Linked DNA regions of Homo sapiens: regions 2, 3 and 4 are each linked to region 1. The links are contacts of gene promoters, found by promoter capture Hi-C in blood cells and fetal thymus (Javierre and others, 2016). All regions are on one chromosome and are shown on one strand. Each heading gives the region's core, a stretch centred on a gene start or on the middle of the fragment in contact. The rest is flanking DNA. Distances are from core to core; before and after follow the strand shown. Region 1 holds the start of NAT14 (N-acetyltransferase 14 (putative)). Region 2 overlaps SYT5 (synaptotagmin 5). Region 3 overlaps PPP1R12C (protein phosphatase 1 regulatory subunit 12C). Region 4 overlaps PTPRH (protein tyrosine phosphatase receptor type H).

The links. The method cuts DNA at HindIII sites, captures the fragments that hold promoters and counts their contacts. A CHiCAGO score of 5 or more calls a contact.
Region 2: a fragment that was not itself captured here is called in contact with the fragment with the promoter of NAT14 in region 1 in 12 of 17 cell types (total CD4 T cells, activated CD4 T cells, total CD8 T cells and 9 more); the score reaches 12.4 in total CD4 T cells.
Region 3: a contact is called between a fragment that was not itself captured here and the fragment with the promoter of NAT14 in region 1, in 3 of 17 cell types (naive CD4 T cells, non-activated CD4 T cells and total CD8 T cells). The highest score is 11.3, in naive CD4 T cells.
Region 4: a contact is called between a fragment that was not itself captured here and the fragment with the promoter of NAT14 in region 1, in 4 of 17 cell types (M0 macrophages, M2 macrophages, naive CD4 T cells and 1 more). The highest score is 6.5, in M0 macrophages.

Annotation. Positions count from the first base shown.
Region 1 is chr19:55,483,726-55,486,592 of GRCh38, forward strand. NAT14 (N-acetyltransferase 14 (putative)) reads left to right here and starts at 1,463. Exons shown (of 3, transcript NM_020378.4): 1 at 1,463-1,533; 2 at 1,936-2,055; 3 at 2,683-2,867. The coding sequence starts at 1,984. ZNF628 (zinc finger protein 628) reads left to right here. Exons shown (of 3, transcript NM_033113.3): 3 at 1-762. The coding sequence ends at 648. RefSeq lists a silencer at 1,253-1,672 and an enhancer at 1,773-2,102. The HindIII fragment of the contact is 21,455 bases long and covers 1-2,867 here.
Region 2 is chr19:55,173,372-55,176,319 of GRCh38, forward strand. SYT5 (synaptotagmin 5) reads right to left here. Exons shown (of 9, transcript NM_003180.3): 4 at 2,634-2,753; 5 at 2,338-2,505; 6 at 1,801-1,968; 7 at 1,511-1,628; 8 at 1,146-1,279; 9 at 1-313. The coding sequence ends at 113. Among named protein-coding and RNA genes, the nearest start is that of SYT5, 5.4 kb to the right of the region's middle. The HindIII fragment of the contact is 439 bases long and covers 1,179-1,617 here.
Region 3 is chr19:55,091,386-55,094,322 of GRCh38, forward strand. It overlaps PPP1R12C (protein phosphatase 1 regulatory subunit 12C), which reads right to left. Exons shown (of 22, transcript NM_017607.4): 14 at 1,768-1,848; 15 at 1,631-1,691; 16 at 1,398-1,483; 17 at 1,237-1,277; 18 at 1,057-1,159; 19 at 837-941; 20 at 474-524; 21 at 265-315; 22 at 1-173. The coding sequence ends at 87. Among named protein-coding and RNA genes, the nearest start is that of EPS8L1, 17 kb to the left of the region's middle. The HindIII fragment of the contact is 7,228 bases long and covers 1-2,937 here.
Region 4 is chr19:55,190,615-55,193,725 of GRCh38, forward strand. PTPRH (protein tyrosine phosphatase receptor type H) reads right to left here. Exons shown (of 20, transcript NM_002842.5): 11 at 1,049-1,127; 12 at 887-934. Among named protein-coding and RNA genes, the nearest start is that of SYT5, 12 kb to the left of the region's middle. The HindIII fragment of the contact is 4,918 bases long and covers 1-3,111 here.

The DNA.
Region 1 (2,867 bases), core at 213-2,712:
CTCCAGCCAGCACAGGAAGTAACCACGGTCCAGCTCCAGCCAGCACAGGAGGTGACCACGGTCCAGCTCCAGCCCGTGGCCGGCCAGCTCTCCAATTCCAGTGGGGGAGCTGTGGCTACTGAGGCACCCAACCTGCTGGTTGTTCAGAGCGGGGCAGCTGAGGAGTTGCTCACTGGCCCGGGCCCCGGGGAGGCGGGGGATGGCGAGGCCAGCACTGGTGTGGTCCAGGATGTCCTCTTTGAGACACTCCAGACGGACGAGGGCTTGCAGAGCGTGCTGGTGCTGAGCGGGGCCGATGGCGAACAGACTCGACTCTGCGTACAGGAGGTAGAAACACTTCCTCCTGGGCTGACGGAGCCGCCTGCCACCGGCCCACCCGGACAGAAACTCCTCATCATCCGCAGCGCCCCAGCCACTGAGCTGCTGGACAGCAGCAACACTGGAGGAGGCACCGCCACGCTGCAGCTCCTGGCCCCACCGCCGTCAGGCCCAGCCTCGGGCCCCGCGGGGCTCCCCGGGGCTCCAGCCTCCCAGATGGTGCAAGTGGTCCCCGCAGGAGCTGGGCCTGGTGTTATGACCCCTCAGGGCCTGCCCTCCATCCAGATTGTCCAGACTCTACCCGCAGTCCAGCTGGTGCACACGTTTTGAGGAGAGGCAGTGATTCCCCTCCCGCCCCGCACAGAGACCCCGACTCACTGCCAGCCGGGGCGGGGCAGGGTGCCGCAGGCTGGGCTTGCTAATAAAGACCCGAGTCTCCCCGCCTGTGTTTTGTTTTCCTGGGGGGAGGGAAGGGGGCAAAGTCATGGTCCTAGCCCCCGCCTGGGAGCGTGGAGTCTTAAGTCTTGCGTCCTGGGTCGCAGATGGCTTGTTCTGCATCCTGGGGCCAGCCACTACGTAGGGCTCAGTTCCCCTGTCCTGAAACCAAAAAAGGCCGCAGGGGTCATTATAGTGGGGAGGTGGTGACATCAGACTCCAGGGAGTGCTACTTGTTCACTGTAGGTCGCCCCGCTGCCCCCCTCGTGTGAGAAGTAGGGGGATCCTTATGCGGAAGGGTTCTGCGACCCCGGGCGCCCCGTGGGTGGAGTGGGGTCCCTGGGGATGGGGGAGTCGGGCGCCAGGATGCTGAGCGTGGCCGGCTCCTCCCGCGAAGGCCCCGGCACGGATGAGAATCCACGCGCTGGCGTCGCCGCCCGGCGCTCAGGTTGCTCAGCAACGAGGGAACGTGGGGCGGGAGCTCGCGCTGGTCCCCAGCCCGCCGCCCGTCTCCTGCCGGCTTCCGCTCCCGTTCTTCCCCAGGTCCCCTTTCCCCGTTGCTCCTTCTCTAGGGATAGGAGAGGTCGCTTCCCGGCCCTCCGCAGGGTCACAGCTCGGTTCCTCCCAGCCCGCCCTCCGGGGAGCTTAGCAACGGTTGCTACGGCCCGGAGCGGGCGCCGCCCCGCCCCACCGCGCGCGGTCTGACGTCACTTCCGCCCGCGACCCCCTTCCAGACCCGCTCCCGAAACCTTGTCGAAGGACCAAAGGCGACCGGTGCAGGTGCTTGCTGGTCCTTGTTCTTGTGGCGCGGGACGGGGACGACTGTGGGGGAGGGGGCGCTGGGGACCGGGGTGGAGCGAGCGTGGTCCGTTCTCTGGCATGTGGGGAGGGTGTTCGTGGACCCCAGTGCCTGGGAGGGAGCCCCGTGCTGCAGTGTTGGCGTCCGCAGCGCGTTTGGGAGTGTAGATCGCTGAATAATACGGGGGAGGGGGGATCCCGGGAGACTTTAGCAAGGTCGCTGAGTATTGTGGGGGGCGCCTGTCCTGCCGAGATCCTCGCTTGGGGGCCCCGAGGGTTCTCAGTGTCCTGATCTGGGAAGTGCCGTTGCTGCTCCCTACCCCTCGGGGGAGCTTTGGGGACAGAGGTGCCCCCCTGACGCTGACCTACTTATGTTCTCACCAGGTGCACGACGCCAGCTCCCTTCTGGGGGGCCGGGGCCTGGGGGTTGCCATGGCCCCCAGCCACCTGTCAGTGCGGGAGATGAGGGAAGATGAGAAGCCCCTGGTGCTGGAGATGCTGAAGGTGAGAGGCAGGGGCCCCAGGGGGCCTGGGAGTGGCTGCAGTGGGGGAATTGCAAGTGGATTCAGCCACCCCCTCCCACCCACCTGAGCCAGCCTGGACCCCTGGAGCGGGATCTTTTCCTCCTGAGCCTCAGCCGCCCTGCTGCTGAAAACCACAGCAGGTGTGGCAGGTGGGGGCTCACCCCCCCAGCCCTACTGGGACCCCAGCACCAACGCCCTCCCTGGTCTCCCATCTCCAGTCGGCTGTGCACGCCAGCACAACAGCCAGCTCTGTGCCTCGGACCCCAACTCTTCAAAGCACAGCCCAGCACCCCAACCTAGCCCAGCAGCCTCCCTCCAGCCTCCACTCCAGCCTGAGGCAACCTCCCTGTCCTTACTTCCCTGGGGCCTCACTGCGGCATTGCTACTGAATTGAGTGCCCCCACAGCTCCTAATTCACTCATCCATCCATCATTCGCTCTCGTTCATTCATTCACTCCATACCCAGTGTGCCACACTGAACATCGGACTGTGCTGCCTTCCCTTCCCATTTGGGAGCTCTCACCCCGCCCCGGGCAGGGTCTACCTCCTCTCTTTGTCCAGGAGGCCCTAGCGTTTCGGATGGCTGAGCCACCCCTCCTGCCCACAGGCCGGCGTGAAGGACACGGAAAACCGCGTGGCCCTCCATGCCTTGACACGGCCGCCGGCCCTGCTCCTCCTGGCGGCGGCCAGCAGCGGCCTGCGCTTTGTCCTGGCTTCCTTCGCCCTGGCCCTCCTCCTGCCGGTGTTCCTGGCTGTGGCCGCCGTGAAGCTGGGCCTGCGGGCCCGATGGGG
Region 2 (2,948 bases), core at 148-2,647, 310 kb before region 1:
AGGGTAACCGTCAGAGGAAGCTTAAGGGTGGGGCTGGCTTGGCTTTGGCCGGTCTCGGGAGTCTGGGGTCAGGGGCTAGAGTCCAGGCTTGGCCGGGGGCTTGGGGTGGGAGTCAGGGCGCAGGCAGCAGCCTCACTCGGTCCGGGGGCCGCAGCGAGTGCCACTGGGCAATGGGCCGCCGCGGGTTGGCCAGCATGTCCGCCCAGTGCCGCAGGCCAGCCCCGCCGGCGGCCGCCCCCACGGCCACCCTCCCGATGGCCTCGTTCTTGCCCAGCTTGTCGTAGTCCAGCACGGTCAGCTCCACCTGCACCTTCTGGGGTGGGCGCGGGAGGAAGAGGAGAGAGGAGCGTGAGGGGAGGAGGCCCCGGAAGGGGCGGTGTCCGTTTTCACGGCTGAGGGTACCTCTCGCTGCCACCCGAGGGCTCGGGGCCCCGGAGCTCGGGACGGGGGAGGGGGTGGGAGACGAGAGGGACGGAGCCTGCGGCGAGGAGGAGGCTCTGGCGCCTTTCTTCCTGCGCAGCCAGGTTTCTAAGGAAATGAACCCTCAGGACTCGGTTGCGGAGCGGGTGTGTTCGGCGCCTCCTGGGGGAGCAGCCTCCTAAGAGCCGCAAAGCTGCAGAACTTTAACAGGGGCCGGGCTAGGGTAGGCGCCGTCCCTAAAGAAGTGAGGGGAGGTCTCTTTTTCTTAGAACCACGTTCCTGAGGAGGGCGGGGCATCCTGGTCCTGCTTAGGGTGGGGAATCTGGTCCCGCTTAGGAGTGGGGCATCCTGGTCCCGCTTGGGGGCGGGGCATCCTGGTCCTGCTTGGGGGCGGGGCATCCTGGTCCTGCTTGGGGGCGGAGCATCCTGGTTCCGCTTGGTGGGGCGGGGCATACTGATCCTGCTTAGGGTGGAGCATCTGGTACTGCTTAGGGGTGGGACATCCCGGTCCCGCTTAGAGCAGATAGGACACCCACACCCAATTTTAAGGAGTCTCTTCCTGGAGTGGAAGAGGCTTCCTGGTCCTCATAGGAGGAAACAGACTGAGAGCATAACCTCAGACCCCCTCACCTGGTTTCTAGGGAGATGCTAAAAAGTCTCCCTCCGCCTAGCAATGGCGATTACTAAAGGTCTGGGCTCTTGGAGAAGGGCAGGTTTGAGCTCACCTGGACTTGGTCACAGGGCACCTCGAAGCTGAAAGCTTCGTTGTAATAGGGGTTCAGAGTGTTCTTCTTGATGGTGGTTTTCTTCTTCCGCACCTTTTTGCCGCCCTGCAGCAGGTGGACCTTGACGTATGGATCTGGGGAGAGGAAGGAGGAGTCTTATAGCTCCCCACTGCTGGGTTGTTGGACCAACATAGAAACACTGCCTACACCCTTCGGGTCTCCCTAGCTCTATGCCAAAATCCATGCCTTCCACAGCAGCCAGGTCCTCCCTGTCCCCGAAGAAACCCTCGAGGCTCAGAAACTGTCAGAACGAGAACCCACCCCACGCCATCCCCACACACCCCACTCCCTTGCTTCCCACACACCTGACAGTCCTCCTACGTCCATCTTCTTCAGGTTTTTAGCCTCCAGGACGATGACGGTGAGCTTCCCGGCCGTGGGGACATAGCGGAGGGAGAAGCAGATGTCCCCAAGCTTCTCCTGCTGAAAGGAGAGGGGCCCATCACCAGAGCCCCGGCTCCACATCCATGCCTCCTCAGGGGTACAATCCACGCCGCCCTGAGGGTCTGGAAAGCCTATGATCTGATTGGCTCAGGATGTTGTGGGCGGGACTGGGCCTGGGGGCGTGGCTCGGGGCGCGACCGCGCATGCTCACCTCCTCCCGCGGAGCCGCCTGCAGCTCCCGCCAGGCCTGCACTGGCCGCCCCAGGTCCACGGAGCTCATAGGGACCCGCACCTCCCCGATGGCGTCATTGCGAGAGAAGCGGTCGAAGTCGTACACCGCCATGACCAGCACCCTGCCCCCCAGCTCCACGTAGGGGACCTGGAGTGCACAGAGAATCCGCAGTAGAGAGCAGGAAGTCAGAGATAGGGTGAGGCACAGCACAACCAGAAGGAAGGCATGGAGTGAGGCAGCGAGGGTCGAAGCGAACAGTTGGGGGAACTCAAATGGGAAAGTCCAGGGATCCATGCGGAAAAAAATCACGGGTCAGTGGAACCCAAATCGTACCGCCCAAGGACCAGGCTACAGCCCAGGAGTCAGTAGTGCCCAGGGTCCAGTGGAATAGCCCCAGAGCTGGTAGCTGCCACCTGAGCTGTGGCCGCCTCCAGGAAAAGCGGAAGGGGTCGGTCCCTAGTGTTCCAGGGACTGGGCACAGGCTATGGAACACGGGGCCTGAAGGCAGGAGCTCACCTTGAAGGCGAAGGTCTCCCCAAAGTGAGGGTTCAGCGTCTGCCGATGCACCTTGGTCTCGTACCGCCTCCGTTTGTCCGGCAGCAGGTAGACCCGCACATAGGGGTCCGAGGAGCCACCAAGATCCAAGGCTGCCAATCCCATTGCTTGCAGAATGCCCACCAGCAGCTGCAGGGCCCAGGCACAGTGGGGGAGGTGGGGAACACTAGTCTTAGCCTCCCTTCCATGGCTCCTTTCAGAAGGGGTTGGAACCCCCGGGATCCTCCCTCCAAAGCTTCCCCTTCCTCCACACCCACCTGGCCACTCTGGAAGTCATAATCCAGGGAGTACTGCAGTCGTCCTAGCTCATGCTTGTCTGCCACCTGCTGCCCTGGCCCGGATGGTGCTGGCTCCAGCTCCTCTACTTCTGGCTGCACCTTAAGGAGCCAGGGGTAAGGGTGGGTGAAGTCTTCCCCTGATAGCAGTATCCATCAGGCTCAGAAGCCAAGGGAGGCTCACAGGTCCCTTGGGCTATACCTGAGCTCTCACAGGCTAAGCAGATTCAGTATTTGACTAGTGCTGTCTGCCACAGGCAGGAAATAGACGTGGTAACACAGATGCAGTATGTTTGT
Region 3 (2,937 bases), core at 66-2,565, 390 kb before region 1:
GCCCTGTCACTCGTGTTCACACGGGGGAAGGGGTGCGTGTGGCAGAAGCAGCTGTATAAATACGGGTGCGGGAAAGTCCCTCCGGGTCACTTGGAGAGTTTGCTGATGACGCGGATCAACGCTGCATTCTCATCCTTGAGGCGCTGGTTGTCAGCGCGGAGGTCAGACAGGGCCTGGGGGACGGCAAGGGTCAGCTGGGCAGCCCTGGCGGGTTGCACCCCCACCCACCCTCGGCCCTCTGCCCACAGCCCCCACAGCCCCCACCTTCAGCTCCTCCTCCAGCTCTGCGGCCTTGCGTTCCAGGGCCCTGCGCTCCTGGAATGAACAGGGAAAGTGCAGAAACTGAGTGAGGCTGAGGAGGGCAGGGGAAGGCCAGGGGCCAGCTGGGAAGGGCAATGTGGCTCCCTTGGTCCAAACTTAGGGATGTGAGGCTGGGGACGCCTCTGGCCCCCATCCCCACTGCCCCTACTCACGAATCTCTCCAGTTCCAGGAGGGCTGGCCTCTCAGCGAAGCGTTCTTGCCTCTGGTGAGGACACAGAAAGCACAGGGGTCAGCAGAAGAAGCCAGCACTGCTCTGAAGGGTCCTAGGCTCCTGCTGGGCACCCGCCCGCCCACTAGGCAGCCCACAAGCCCTTCCCCCACGGGCCAGGCCCCGCCACCGGCAGGCCCACAGCCCCATCCCCTCGCTCAGACTCCGCCTCCGAGATCTCGGCCCCGCCCCTCAAGTGAAGCCCAGCCCCGCCGGCACCCCCAGGCCAGGCTCTACCTCCCAGCAGTCTAAGCCCCACCCAGGCGGCCCTGCCAGTTCCCGTGACCCTGGCCTCGGCGCCCTTACCTGCGTGGCCCGCTCCAGCTCCACCTTGAGCTGCGCCAGCCGCAGCGTGGTCTCGGTCAGGGCCTCGCGAAGCCGCTCGTTCTCCCTGCGCAGCTCTGCATACAGCTGGGGGTCAGGTAGAGGAGGGTCAGGTGGAGGATGGGGCGATGCTGGGGGGGCGGGGAAGCCAGGAAGCTGGGCACCCAGCAGGCAAAGCCCCGACGGAGGGGTGGGATCGCACCGTCCTAAAGCCTCCGTCTGGCTCTTCCGATTCTGGCTCAGGTTCTGGGTTGAGGTCCCGCTGCCACCGCTGCCTGCGGGCCGAGGGGCCGCCCTCCAGGGTGCTGGGGCAGGGGAGGAGCGCGCGTCAGGGGCCGGCCCGGCCCGCACGCAGACCCCACCTCTCCCACCCCGCCCCTACCTGGACTCCTGGCTGCGGTCAGCCGGCTCCGCCTCCTCCCCCTGTGGGCAGGTAGACGGGGGTTCAATGGGTATGGGAGGGACTTTAGCGGGTATGGGAAGGGCTTTGCCCGCCCCCCGGCCCACCCTCTGCACCAGCTCGGCCCCACCTGAGCCCCTCACCTCCGCAGGCCCCCTCCACTCCTTTCCGACCTTGCGGTGCTCCCTGGCCGCCTGCGGTCCCGGACCCTGCCCGTCGGGCGCCTCTGCTGGGGGAGGGGCAGGAATCAGCCCAGGCACCTCCAGAGCCCCCTCTCGGTGCCTGGGTCCCCGGGTCAAGCCCCCAGGAAAGCAAGAAGACTATGGGAGAAACTGGATGATTCCCTGGGAATGACCTCCCCGAGAGCAGACCTCACCTCTCTGGGCAGGGCTGTCAGAGTTCTCCACTCCAGGGACGCGGGGCCTTCGGGAAGGGTCCTGTCGGGAGGGGGAGGCGAGTCAGGGAAGCAGGACATCCCGCACCACCCCACTCGCCCTCGCTGACCCCTCTCACCAGGCTCTGCGCCGGCTTCTCTGACTCTGGGGCCTTCCCTGCAGCCTTCTCTGCCTCCTTCAGGTCTGTAAGAGTCACACCCTGGCAGGGAAAGGGGACAGTCAGGGGACGCTGGGGTCAGGGCCCAGCCCCTCCTCCCTCAGACCCAGGAGCCCAGGCCCCAGCCCCTCCTCCCTCAGACCCAGGAGCCCAGACCCCAGCCCCTCCTCCCTCAGACCCAGGAGTCCAGACCTCCAGCCCCTCCTCCCTCAGACCCAGGAGTCCAGGCCCCAGCCCCTCCTCCCTCAGACCCAGGAGTCCAGACCTCCAGCCCCTCCTCCCTCAGACCCAGGAGTCCAGGCCCCAGCCCCTCCTCCCTCAGACCCAGGAGTCCAGACCTCCAGCCCCTCCTCCCTCAGACCCAGGAGCCCAGGCCCCAGCCCCTCCTCCCTCAGACCCAGGAGTCCAGACCTCCAGCCCCTCCTCCCTCAGACCCAGGAGCCCAGACCCCAGCCCCTCCTCCCTCAGACCCAGGAGCCCAGGCCCCAGCCCCTCCTCCCTCAGACCCAGGAGCCCAGACCCCAGCCCCTCCTCCCTCAGACCCAGGAGCCCAGGCCCCAGCCCCTCCTCCCTCAGACCCAGGAGCCCAGACCCCAGCCCCTCCTCCCTCAGACCCAGGAGTCCAGGCCCCAGCCCCTCCTCCCTCAGACCCAGGAGTCCAGACCTCCAGCCCCTCCTCCCTCAGACCCAGGAGCCCAGACCCCAGCCCCTCCTCCCTCAGACCCAGGAGTCCAGGCCCCAGCCCCTCCTCCCTCAGACCCAGGAGCCCAGGCCCCAGCCCCTCCTCCCTCAGACCCAGGAGTCCAGGCCCCAGCCCCTCCTCCCTCAGACCCAGGAGTCCAGACCTCCAGCCCCTCCTCCCTCAGACCCAGGAGTCCAGGCCCCAGCCCCTCCTCCCTCAGACCCAGGAGCCCAGGCCCCAGCCCCTCCTCCCTCAGACCCAGGAGTCCAGGCCCCAGCCCCTCCTCCCTCAGACCCAGGAGTCCAGACCTCCAGCCCCTCCTCCCTCAGACCCAGGAGTCCAGGCCCCAGCCCCTCCTCCCTCAGACCCAGGAATCCAGGCCCCCAGCCCCTCCTCCCTCAGACCCAGGAGTCCAGGCCCCAGCCCCTCCTCCCTCAGACCCAGGAGTC
Region 4 (3,111 bases), core at 261-2,760, 290 kb before region 1:
TATTATAAATTATATATATATATAATTTTTTTTTGAGACAGAGTCTCACTCTGTTGCCCAGGCTGGAGTGCAATGGTGCAATCTCAGCTCACTGCAACCTCTGCTCCCGGGTTCAAGTGATTCTCCTGCCCCAGCCACCTGCGTAGCTGGGATTACAGGCGTGAGCCACCATGCCTGGCCCTGTCTGAAAGTTTATATCATATTTTTTATGATCTTTTTTAATTTTTTATTACTATTATTTTTTTGAGACGGAGTCTCGATCTGTCACCCAGGCTGCAGTGCAGTGGCGTGATCTCAACTCACTGCAAGCTCTACCTCCCAGGTTCACGCCATTCTCCTGCCTCAGCCTCCCAAGTAGCTGGGACTATAGGTGCCCGCCACCAAGCCTGGCTAATTTTTTGTATTTTTTAGTGGAGACAGGGTTTCACCACGTTAGCCAGGATGGTCTTGATCTCCTGACCTTGTGGTCTGCCTGCCTCAGCTTCCCAAAGTGCTGGGATTACAGGCATGAGCCACCGCACCCAGCAATCTTGTTTATTGATATCTCCTGTACTAGAATATAAGCCCCTGGCGGGCAAGAATCTTGGTTTCATTTGCTGTTTGTTTGGCACCTGGAACAGTGCCTGATACATGCTGGTGCTCAGCTGATATCTGCTGAATGAATGAATGTCCGGGAGTTGAGACCAGAACTGAATTCGCTGGCCCAGGCTGCTTGGGGAGTGAGTCACGATGGAAGGGCCGTGGTCCCTGTCGCAGAGGCATGGGCCCCTTCTGAGACCTTTGTGGGTAAATGCATTGATCCACCCTCTGACCTAGCTGGCAGCCAGCAAACACCCCTTGATTTGACCAGATTCTTTCCAATGCACCCCCCAGACCTTCTGCTCACCTAAAGACCAGATCCCTGAGTTCTGGTTTCTGCTGCTTCTTCTTATTCCTGGGAAAAGGACGTTAGGATGAGAGGCTCAGGGGGTGAGGCTGCAACCAGCGGTCCTCCTCCTTCTTCTCCAGCCCCCACCCTCCAGGCGGTCAGCCCTGTGCTGAGTCTCACCTCCTCTTCAGGAAGAAAATCAGCAGGCCCACGAGGATGAGAAACAGGAGGATGCCCACAAAGGCTCCGGCAATGACCCCTGTGGGGAGGAGGCATCGGGAACCCTCAGAGCGCAGGTCTGAGCTGCTCATCTGTCTCCAACCCTGCCCAGCCTTTCCTCTTCCCCAGGAGCCTGGTCCAAAGACAGCTGACCCCCGAACATCACACGGTGTGAATTGCGTCGGTCCAGTTATACTTACGCGCTTACCCATGGATTTTCCTCCACCCCTGAGACAGCAAGACCAGCCCCTCTCCTACCTCCTCCTCCTCCTCCGCCTACTCAACGCGAAGACTACAAGGAGGAAGACCTTTATGATGATCTACTTAATAAATAGCGAGTACATTTTCTCTTCCTTAGGATATTCTTAGTAACATTTTTTTCTTTAGCTACTTGATTATAAGAATACAGCATATAGTACGGCCGGGCGCGGTGGCTTACGCCTGTAATCCCAGCACTTTGGGAGGCGGAGATGGGCACATCACGAGGTCAGGAGATCGAGACCATCCTGGTTAACACGGTGAAACCCCATCTCCACTAAAAATACAAAAAATTAGCAGGGCGTGGTGGTGGGCGCCTGTAGTCCCAGCTACTCGGGAGGCTGAGGCAGGAGAATGGCGTGAACCCGGGAGGTGGAGCTTGCAGTGAGCCCAGATCACACTACTGCACTCCAGCCTGGGTAACAGAGCAAGACTCTGTCTCAAAAACAAACAAACAAACAAAAAGAATACAGTATGTAGTACATATTACAGATGAAATGTATGTTGTTTATGTTATTGGTAAGGCTTCCAATCAAGAGTAGGCTATTAGTAGTTAAGTTTTGGGGGAGTCAAAAGTTATGTGCAGATTTTTTTTTCTTTTTCTTTTTCTGAGACAGAGTCTTGCTCTGTCACCCAGGCTGCAGTGCAGTGGTGCGACCTCGGCTCACTGCAACCTCTGCCTCCCGGGTTCACGCCATTCTCCTGCCTCAGCCTCCTGAGTAGCTGGGACTACCGGTGCCCGCCACCACTCCTGGCTAATTTTTTGTATTTTTAGTAGAGTTGGGGTTTCACCGTGTTAGCCAGGGTGGTCCTGATCTCCTGACCTCGTGATCCACCTGCCTCAGCCTCCCAAAGTGCTGGGATTATAGGCATGAGCCACCATGCCCGGCTGTTATATGCAGATTTTCTACTGTGTAGGGGACAATTGTTCAAGGGTCAACTATCCATCATTTTCACAGGTGACCTGGTTGCTGAAGAGTGACTCCTGGCCAGGCATGGTGGCTCACCCCTGTAATCCCAACACTTTGGGAGGCTGAGGTGGGTGGATCACTTGAGCCCAGGAGTTTGAGACCAGCCTGGGCAACATAACAAAACCCAGTCTCTACTAAAAAAACAAAAGTTAGCTGGGTATGGTGGTGCACACCTGTCATCCCAACTACTCAGGAGGCTGAGCATAAGAGTCACTTGAACCCGGGAGGTGGAGGCTGCAGTGAGCTGAGATTGCACGACTGCACTCCAGACTGGGTGATAGAGTGAGACTCTGTCTCAAAAAAAAAAAAAAGAAAAAGAAAGCAAAACAAAACAAAAAGAACCCCAACAAAATAGCTGGGCATGGTAGTACATGCCTGTAGTCCCAGCTACTCAGGGGACTGAGGCAGGAGGATCACTTGAGCCTGGGAGGTGGAGGCTGTGGTGGGCATGATCGTATCACTGCACTCCAGCCTGGGCAACAGAGTGAGACCCTGTCTCAAAAAAGAACAAAACGAAACAAAACAAAAAAGTGATTCTTGCCTTCCTTAGCTTAGACTAGTGGTTCTCAACAAGGGTGATTTTGCTCCCAAAGAGACACCGGGCAATGTCTGGAGACGCTTTTGGTTGTCACAGCTTGGAAGTGGGAGTGCTGCTGGCACATAGTGGGTGGGAAGCAGAGGTGCAGCTCAATATCCTACAATGCGCAGGACGGCCCCCCCACAACAAAGAAGGATCTAGCCGGAAACGTCTGTAGTGCCGAGGCGGGGGAAACACTTTGCTGGTTGTGAAATCAT